Regions from separate parts of the Homo sapiens genome. Here region 1 is linked to region 2. The links are contacts of gene promoters, found by promoter capture Hi-C in blood cells and fetal thymus (Javierre and others, 2016). All regions are on one chromosome and are shown on one strand. The core of a region is centred on a gene start or on the middle of the fragment in contact, and the rest is flanking DNA. Distances in the headings are between cores, read along the strand shown.

Evidence for each region. Contacts are between HindIII fragments. The CHiCAGO score rates a contact against its expected background, and 5 or more counts as called.
Region 1: a contact is called between the fragment with the promoter of PPP1R12C here and the fragment with the promoter of LINC01530 in region 2, in 2 of 17 cell types (non-activated CD4 T cells and total CD8 T cells). The highest score is 11.3, in non-activated CD4 T cells.

Annotation. Positions count from the first base shown.
Region 1 is chr19:55,116,112-55,119,864 of GRCh38, reverse strand. PPP1R12C (protein phosphatase 1 regulatory subunit 12C) reads left to right here and starts at 2,228. Exons shown (of 22, transcript NM_017607.4): 1 at 2,228-2,642. The coding sequence starts at 2,322. RefSeq lists enhancers at 1,873-2,152, 3,113-3,192, 3,593-3,642, 2,997-3,753 and silencers at 2,213-2,292, 2,483-2,562, 2,583-2,682. The HindIII fragment of the contact is 6,736 bases long and covers 1,299-3,753 here.
Region 2 is chr19:51,591,954-51,595,634 of GRCh38, reverse strand. It overlaps LINC01530 (long intergenic non-protein coding RNA 1530), which reads left to right and starts at 1,255. Exons shown (of 2, transcript NR_034159.1): 1 at 1,255-1,686; 2 at 2,584-3,681. ZNF175 (zinc finger protein 175) reads right to left here. Exons shown (of 5, transcript NM_007147.4): 5 at 3,125-3,681. RefSeq lists a silencer at 338-505 and enhancers at 588-637, 848-1,157, 904-1,539, 1,540-2,175, 2,176-2,811. The HindIII fragment of the contact is 8,842 bases long and covers 121-3,681 here.

The DNA.
Region 1 (3,753 bases), core at 979-3,478, 3.5 Mb before region 2:
GAGCAGGGTCGCAGTGGGAGTGGGCGCAGTGCGCTGATGCCACGGAGGTGTTGTGCATGACGTCTGGACACTAGACTAGCTGCATGTAATGGGAAAAGTTTGTGTTGTACCAGCGCATGCCTTGGAAAGACTTAAGTAATGCAAAAGGTTGTCCTTTAAAAAAAAAAAAAATCTGGCCGGTCGCGGCGGCTCACGCCTGTAATCCCAGCATTTTGGGAGGCCGAGGCAGTCGGATCACGAGGTCAGGAATTCGAGACCAGCCTGGCCAACATGGTGAAACCCCGTCTCTACTAAAAAACAAAAATTAGCCGGGCGTGGTGGAGCACGCCTGTAGTCCCAGCTACTCAGGAGGCTGAGGCAGGAGAATCGCTTGAACCCGGGAGGCAGAGCTTGCAGTGAGCCGACATCGCGCCACTGCACTCCAGCCTGGGCGACAGAGCAAGCCTCCGTCTCAAAAACAACAACAACAACAAAAAAAAACAAAACTACTGACAAGTTGCTCTACTTAACCCAAAGAAAGTGAAGGAGAAAGCGGCTGCCTCACCGCCTAGACATTGAGTCGCCGGATGTTTCAATGCCTCATGATACAATAAAACCACAAAAATTTTCGTAACAGCAGCAGCAACAACAACAACAAAAGAGAAAGAGAGAGGGAAAGAAACAGGCCTCGTGGGATGCGCAGTTTACGTCTCCGCGCAAACCCAAGGACTTCAGAGTGGGTGGGAAACTCCCACAGCGCTTGGGAAACAGTCTGTAGTCTCTGTCCCGATTTTGGCCCTTTTCTGTATGATTTTTATGGGACTCTTCCTGTCACAAAGTGCCAGCCACCTTCCCAATCTTGAGTTGGGCGCGGGATCCGTAAGGTGAAGATCAAGGTGTGCTCATCGCTTGGGCCCGCTGAAAGGTGATTCGCCCCCCACCTGCTGGAACTCCTTGCCCGGGACCACCAATCCCAGCATGCCTTGAGAGCGCGCGAGGGCCTGGGCGGTTCCCAGGAGGTCCGGGTGGGCGCAGGAGAAGCGCGGGCCAGTGAAAGCTCTGAGAGCCCTGTCCCTGTGGACACTGTGTCTTGGGTTCCTTTACTCGGTGTGGCTCAGGGATTACCATTAGGGAGTGGAGTGTGGATTTCTCTTGCCCCGAGCCCTAAATGCCTTGGGGCCCTGCCTTGCACCCCACTGTGCTTTTAGGGGTGTGGCCCTGTGGGCTACATTTCCCAGCGTGCCCTAGGATCGTGGTCCTGACCTTTTCACCGCAAATTTCATTTCCCAGCATGCCCTGCGAGGTCACCCAGGGAAGCTTGGAAGTGGACTGTCTTTCATGGCTTCTAGGTTGCGGACTCAGTTTCCCATGGTGCCCTGGTGAACCCATTCATTCATTCATTCCAAAAATATTTGCGATCAGGTTCTCTCAGGTTCTGTTCTAAGAACCGAGGACAAGTAGTGCACAGAAGACAAAAGATCCCGCTCTCGTGGAGCTTATTTCTAGTTAAGGGGTCAGGAAAAAAACCAAAATAAATAAAACCCAGCTGGGCATGGTGGCTTACGCTCGTCATCCCAGCAGGATTACAGGCCGAGGCGGGCGGATCATGAGGTCAAGAGATCAAGACCATCATGGCCAACATGGTGAAATCCCGTCTCTACTAAAAATATAAAAATTAGCAGGGCGGGGTGGCGCGCGCCTGTTATCCCAGCTACTCTGGGGACTGAGCCAGAATTGCTTGAACCTGGGAAGCGGAGGTTGCAGCGAGCCGATATCGCGCCACTGAACTCCAGCGTGGCGACAGAGCGAGACTCCGTCTCAAAACAAAGAAAACAAAATAAAACAACAATAACAAAACAACTCTGCCTCTCCCCGCACTCCCTCCCACGCGGCTGTCCAGTCGAATTCCTAACTGCCCCGGGGCAGTCTGCTATTCATCCCCTTTACCCGGTGCTACACACTTCCTAGTATGCCGTGGGGCACCCCTCCGGCCTGTAGACTCCATTTCCCAGCATTCCCCGGAGGAGGCCCTCATCTGGCGATTTCCACTGGGCGCCTCGGAGCTGCGGACTTCCCAGTGTGCATCGGGGCACAGCGACTCCTGGAAGTGGCCAAGGGCCACTTCTGCTAATGGACTCCATTTCCCAGCGCTCCCCGCGACCTGCCCAGCACACCCTGGGGCAGCGCCGTGACGTCAGCACGCCGGGCGGGGACCGGGAGATCCTTGGGGCGGTGGGGGGCCAGCGGCAGTTCCCGGCGGCCCCCGGGGCGGGCGGGCGGGCGGGTGGTGGCGGCGGTTGGGGCTCGGCGCTCGCTCGCTCGCTGGGCGGGCGGGCGGTGCGATGTCCGGAGAGGATGGCCCGGCGGCTGGCCCGGGGGCGGCGGCGGCGGCTGCCCGGGAGCGGCGACGGGAGCAGCTGCGGCAGTGGGGGGCGCGGGCGGGCGCCGAGCCTGGCCCCGGAGAGCGCCGCGCCCGCACCGTCCGCTTCGAGCGCGCCGCCGAGTTCCTGGCGGCCTGTGCGGGCGGCGACCTGGACGAGGCGCGTCTGATGCTGCGCGCCGCCGACCCTGGCCCCGGCGCCGAGCTCGACCCCGCCGCGCCGCCGCCCGCCCGCGCCGTGCTGGACTCCACCAACGCCGACGGTATCAGCGCCCTGCACCAGGTCAGCGCCCCCCGCCCGGCGTCTCCCGGGGCCAGGTCCACCCTCTGCTGCGCCACCTGGGGCATCCTCCTTCCCCGTTGCCAGTCTCGATCCGCCCCGTCGTTCCTGGCCCTGGGCTTTGCCACCCTATGCTGACACCCCGTCCCAGTCCCCCTTACCATTCCCCTTCGACCACCCCACTTCCGAATTGGAGCCGCTTCAACTGGCCCTGGGCTTAGCCACTCTGTGCTGACCACTCTGCCCCAGGCCTCCTTACCATTCCCCTTCGACCTACTCTCTTCCGCATTGGAGTCGCTTTAACTGGCCCTGGCTTTGGCAGCCTGTGCTGACCCATGCAGTCCTCCTTACCATCCCTCCCTCGACTTCCCCTCTTCCGATGTTGAGCCCCTCCAGCCGGTCCTGGACTTTGTCTCCTTCCCTGCCCTGCCCTCTCCTGAACCTGAGCCAGCTCCCATAGCTCAGTCTGGTCTATCTGCCTGGCCCTGGCCATTGTCACTTTGCGCTGCCCTCCTCTCGCCCCCGAGTGCCCTTGCTGTGCCGCCGGAACTCTGCCCTCTAACGCTGCCGTCTCTCTCCTGAGTCCGGACCACTTTGAGCTCTACTGGCTTCTGCGCCGCCTCTGGCCCACTGTTTCCCCTTCCCAGGCAGGTCCTGCTTTCTCTGACCTGCATTCTCTCCCCTGGGCCTGTGCCGCTTTCTGTCTGCAGCTTGTGGCCTGGGTCACCTCTACGGCTGGCCCAGATCCTTCCCTGCCGCCTCCTTCAGGTTCCGTCTTCCTCCACTCCCTCTTCCCCTTGCTCTCTGCTGTGTTGCTGCCCAAGGATGCTCTTTCCGGAGCACTTCCTTCTCGGCGCTGCACCACGTGATGTCCTCTGAGCGGATCCTCCCCGTGTCTGGGTCCTCTCCGGGCATCTCTCCTCCCTCACCCAACCCCATGCCGTCTTCACTCGCTGGGTTCCCTTTTCCTTCTCCTTCTGGGGCCTGTGCCATCTCTCGTTTCTTAGGATGGCCTTCTCCGACGGATGTCTCCCTTGCGTCCCGCCTCCCCTTCTTGTAGGCCTGCATCATCACCGTTTTTCTGGACAACCCCAAAGTACCCCGTCTCCCTGGC
Region 2 (3,681 bases), core at 6-2,505:
GAAGAATGCTCCAAATTGAGTTAATAGCAAATGCAAAGGACATGAAGGGCAGGGCCTGGCTGTGTTCAGCCCATTGGAAAGTGTGTTGTGACTGAGGACGACCAGAAAGGACCAGAAGCTTAGAGGTTGGCAGGATAAGGAGCTTGGATTTTATTCTGAGATGGGAACCACTGGATGATTTTAAGCTGGGGGGCAGGGTAGTGACTGGTGACAGGATCTGATTTATATTTCCACAGGCTTCCTGGCACTGTGCCTGAATAGAGGGTGGAGTGTGGCAAGGGAAGAAACAGAACAGTGAGGAGGCCCCTGCAGTGATGCAGGTGAGGAGTAACGGTAGCTCGGAGCAGAATGGAGACAGTGGAAGTGGAGAGAAGTGGTTAGATTCTGGGCCTCTTCTGGAGATAGAGACGATGAGACTCACACAAGATTTGGTTGCGGGAGGGAAGCGGATGAGAGAAACAGAACACTGGCGACCATTCCAAGATTTTGGCTTGAGCACTTGGATGGACAGTTAGTGGGGAGGAGGCAGAAAGATTGTGAGAGGAGCAGGTTTAGGACAGGGAATCTGGGATTTCGTTTGGATGTGGTAGATTTGAGGTCCTTTGCTCTGTAAGGTCTTTCCTGAACCCTGGGCTGGGTCTAGCACCTCCTCTGTGTTCCCACAGCCTCCTGAGCACCCCCTGGGCCAGCCCTGACCACTCTGTGTTGTAACCAGGACAGAGGAGGGTGCACTCGCACTGCACCCAGGTTGAAGGGCGAGAGTGAGAAGGTGTCAGGCTGGGCCGCAGAATCCAAAGCGGGTCAGCAGGTACAACAGCTGCTTAGAGCACTCCCACCCGGAGAGAGGGATTGAGAGATCACGGAAAAGGGTGCCATCTTTCCAGGGACGCCTACCAGAACGCGGGGGAGAGAAATACAGAGACCCTCAACTCCGCCACGTCATCGCGACAAAGGGCCAGGACCGGCCGGCCGCGGGATGGGCGCTCACCTGGGCAGAACTGGAGCTGGAAGGGCCAACCTCCAAAGAAACGAGGAGCGGGCGGAAGGACTACGACTCCCGGAAGGCTTTGGGCCCATCCGCCTACGACTCCCAGGTGCCCCTGCGTTGCGTCGTCCCGAAACACTTGCGGCTCTCGGACAAACTGGGCCTACAGTTCCCAGAGATCCTCGCGGCAGCGCTGCGCATTCTGCGCACGCCTCCCAGAGTGTACTAGGCCGGTCCGGCCCGCTTCCCGTCTGCGCCTGCGCAAGCACAATAGCCGTGCCAGAATTCTCTGCCAGCTGCTGTGCACTGCTGTCAGTGCAAAGATGGGATGGACTTTTTTTTCAGATTTTCTGCTGTTGTGGGAGTATGGCAAGAGTTTGAGGGGGCGGAGAAAGAGATTGGGAATGTGAAAAGGGAAGATAGCACCTGCGCTAAGCACATTCCTAGGATTGGGCCGCGTCTCGGGGATGCAGAGTGGGCTCTTCGGCGCGCCCTGCAGCCATGGGAGTGGACGCCTGCCCAGGCCGAAGGGCAAGGACTTGCGGGGTGGGGTCTCTGTGCATGCGCGGAGCTGAAAGGGAGCGTTTTGCAGATCTCCACGCGTGCGCAACTCTCGGGACGTGGACGCGGTGAACAGTTACGCACAATCGTCTTTCTGACACAAACACACCCTGCCAGGTGGAAGCCAGGATGGAGGGCAGGTGAGACCCGTAAGGCAAGATCCCAAAACCAAGGAACGGAGCACTCTCCCCGCTTGCTCCCCAGATCCAAGCCCTCCACTTCCTTCCAATGCCCCCCTTCCCGAAACTGCTCCCTCCTGTATATTCTGAGATCTTATCACTATTCCCGTGAGGCCCTTGATAAGGAGGATTGAGAGTGAAGGGTGATGGGAGACACGCCTTGGGCGTCTTCTGTCCACCTCAAGGATTGAACTTTGGTAACTGGAACTCATTCATTTGTTAATCTGTGTGCTAGGCCCTTTGACCCGCTGGCCAGATGCACCGGGACACAGGTGTATTCAGCCTGGTCCAGAGATAAGGATGATAAATCTTAATGTAAAGGTATCAGATGTTAAGGGCTGCAGGAGCCCAGAGGTTACAAGTGCTGCAAGCCAGAACATGGGGAAACAACAGCAATTAAGCCGTTAGCTTGTGCCTTGGAGGGGTGTTTGCCCTGCACCCCACTCACTACCTGAAGATAAATGGCTTCTCCAACGTGTAGTGGGGTTGGGATGATGAGGATGACATCACTGCCAGGTGGGAGGCAGGAGCTGCAGGTCCTGACATGATGAGGCAGGTATGGGCCGCCCTGGGCTGAGGGGGACATGGGCTACCCTGGACTGGAGGGCTGGGCTGTGGCATGGGGACCCTGTCAGAGACAGGTGTTTGGCCTCCATGCCTTCCTGTGTCTCTGGAAGGGTGAAACTAAGCGGGATGCTCCTCTCCCAGCCCCACCTGCTTTTCAGAGGCTACCATATGCTGGAGGGGGAAGATCCTGGCCACAAGCAGAGGCCCTGGAGGTGAATCAGTGTTGGAAGTGGGGTGGTTGGTTCTGGGTCCTCCCTGAGGCTCACATGGCTGCCCCTCCCCATCCTCCAGGCCTCGCCTTCTGTCCCGGATCCGCCAATCCTCCGATCCCTGGATCCTCTGATGATGGCATCAACTGTCTGGGCTACAGGTTGCTCTCCAAAGAGTGGCTGCCCCTCTACACCAACCTCACTGTGGACATAACTTCCAAGCCTCAGGAGACCCAGTGCAAAGCTGAGGGGTATCTTATCTGGAAGCCAGAAAGAGCCCCTGAGGCCAAGGTCACAGGGAAGCCCTCCCACTCACCCCACCTGGTTTCTTTTAAAAGTAGAGTTTATTTTATCTCCTTTCTGCCATCCCTAATTCCTTCCTTCCATCTGTCCATCCATCTTCTTTCCCCTCCCTCCCTTCCTCCCTTCTCCTTCTCCTCCTCCCCACACCTGCTTCTTTTCTCTTTCTTTCAACTATGTCCAGAAGGTCCTTCTTAACAAACACTAATTAGTACAGGGAAAGGTCTCTTTAAGTGAATGCATTTAAAATAGGGAGTCCACCTTTGTGGTAAATAGTGTGCACGAGGTGAGTCTGGATCAGGACTTCACACTTGATAACGGAATTCAATTTCTCAAAATACCTTTATTTCAGATTTAATGAAATTCCATGTTTGTTGAATCATTAAGAACGAGCATTTGTGTTGTACTCATGGTGGACAGCCACCATTCTAATGCTTGACTTTACATAATTAACGCATGTAATCTGCAAAGGAGCCACAAGGCGAGATCTATTATTATTCCCATTGTGCTGCTGGAGAAATTAAGGCAGAGAGGTTAAGTTGCTTGCCACCAAACTAGCGAGGGGCAGAGCTGGGATGTGTAGCATCCAGGTAGGTTGGCTCCAGAGCCCATGAGCCTAACTACTACTGTGCCCAACCTTTGTGCCAATCGCCACAACAGTCAAAGGATGGATCAAGTACTGGTTTTGGGGGTGGGGGCAGGGGACTCTGGGCAGTATGTTTTCTGATCACATCACATGACAGTAGGACATTCTTCATTTCACCATGGCTTTCACTGCCCAACAATAAAAAGGTCATGGGCACTTTGGGAGGCCGAGGGGGGGGGATCACGAGGTCAGGAGATCGAGACCATCCTGGCCAACACGGTGAAACCCCGTCTC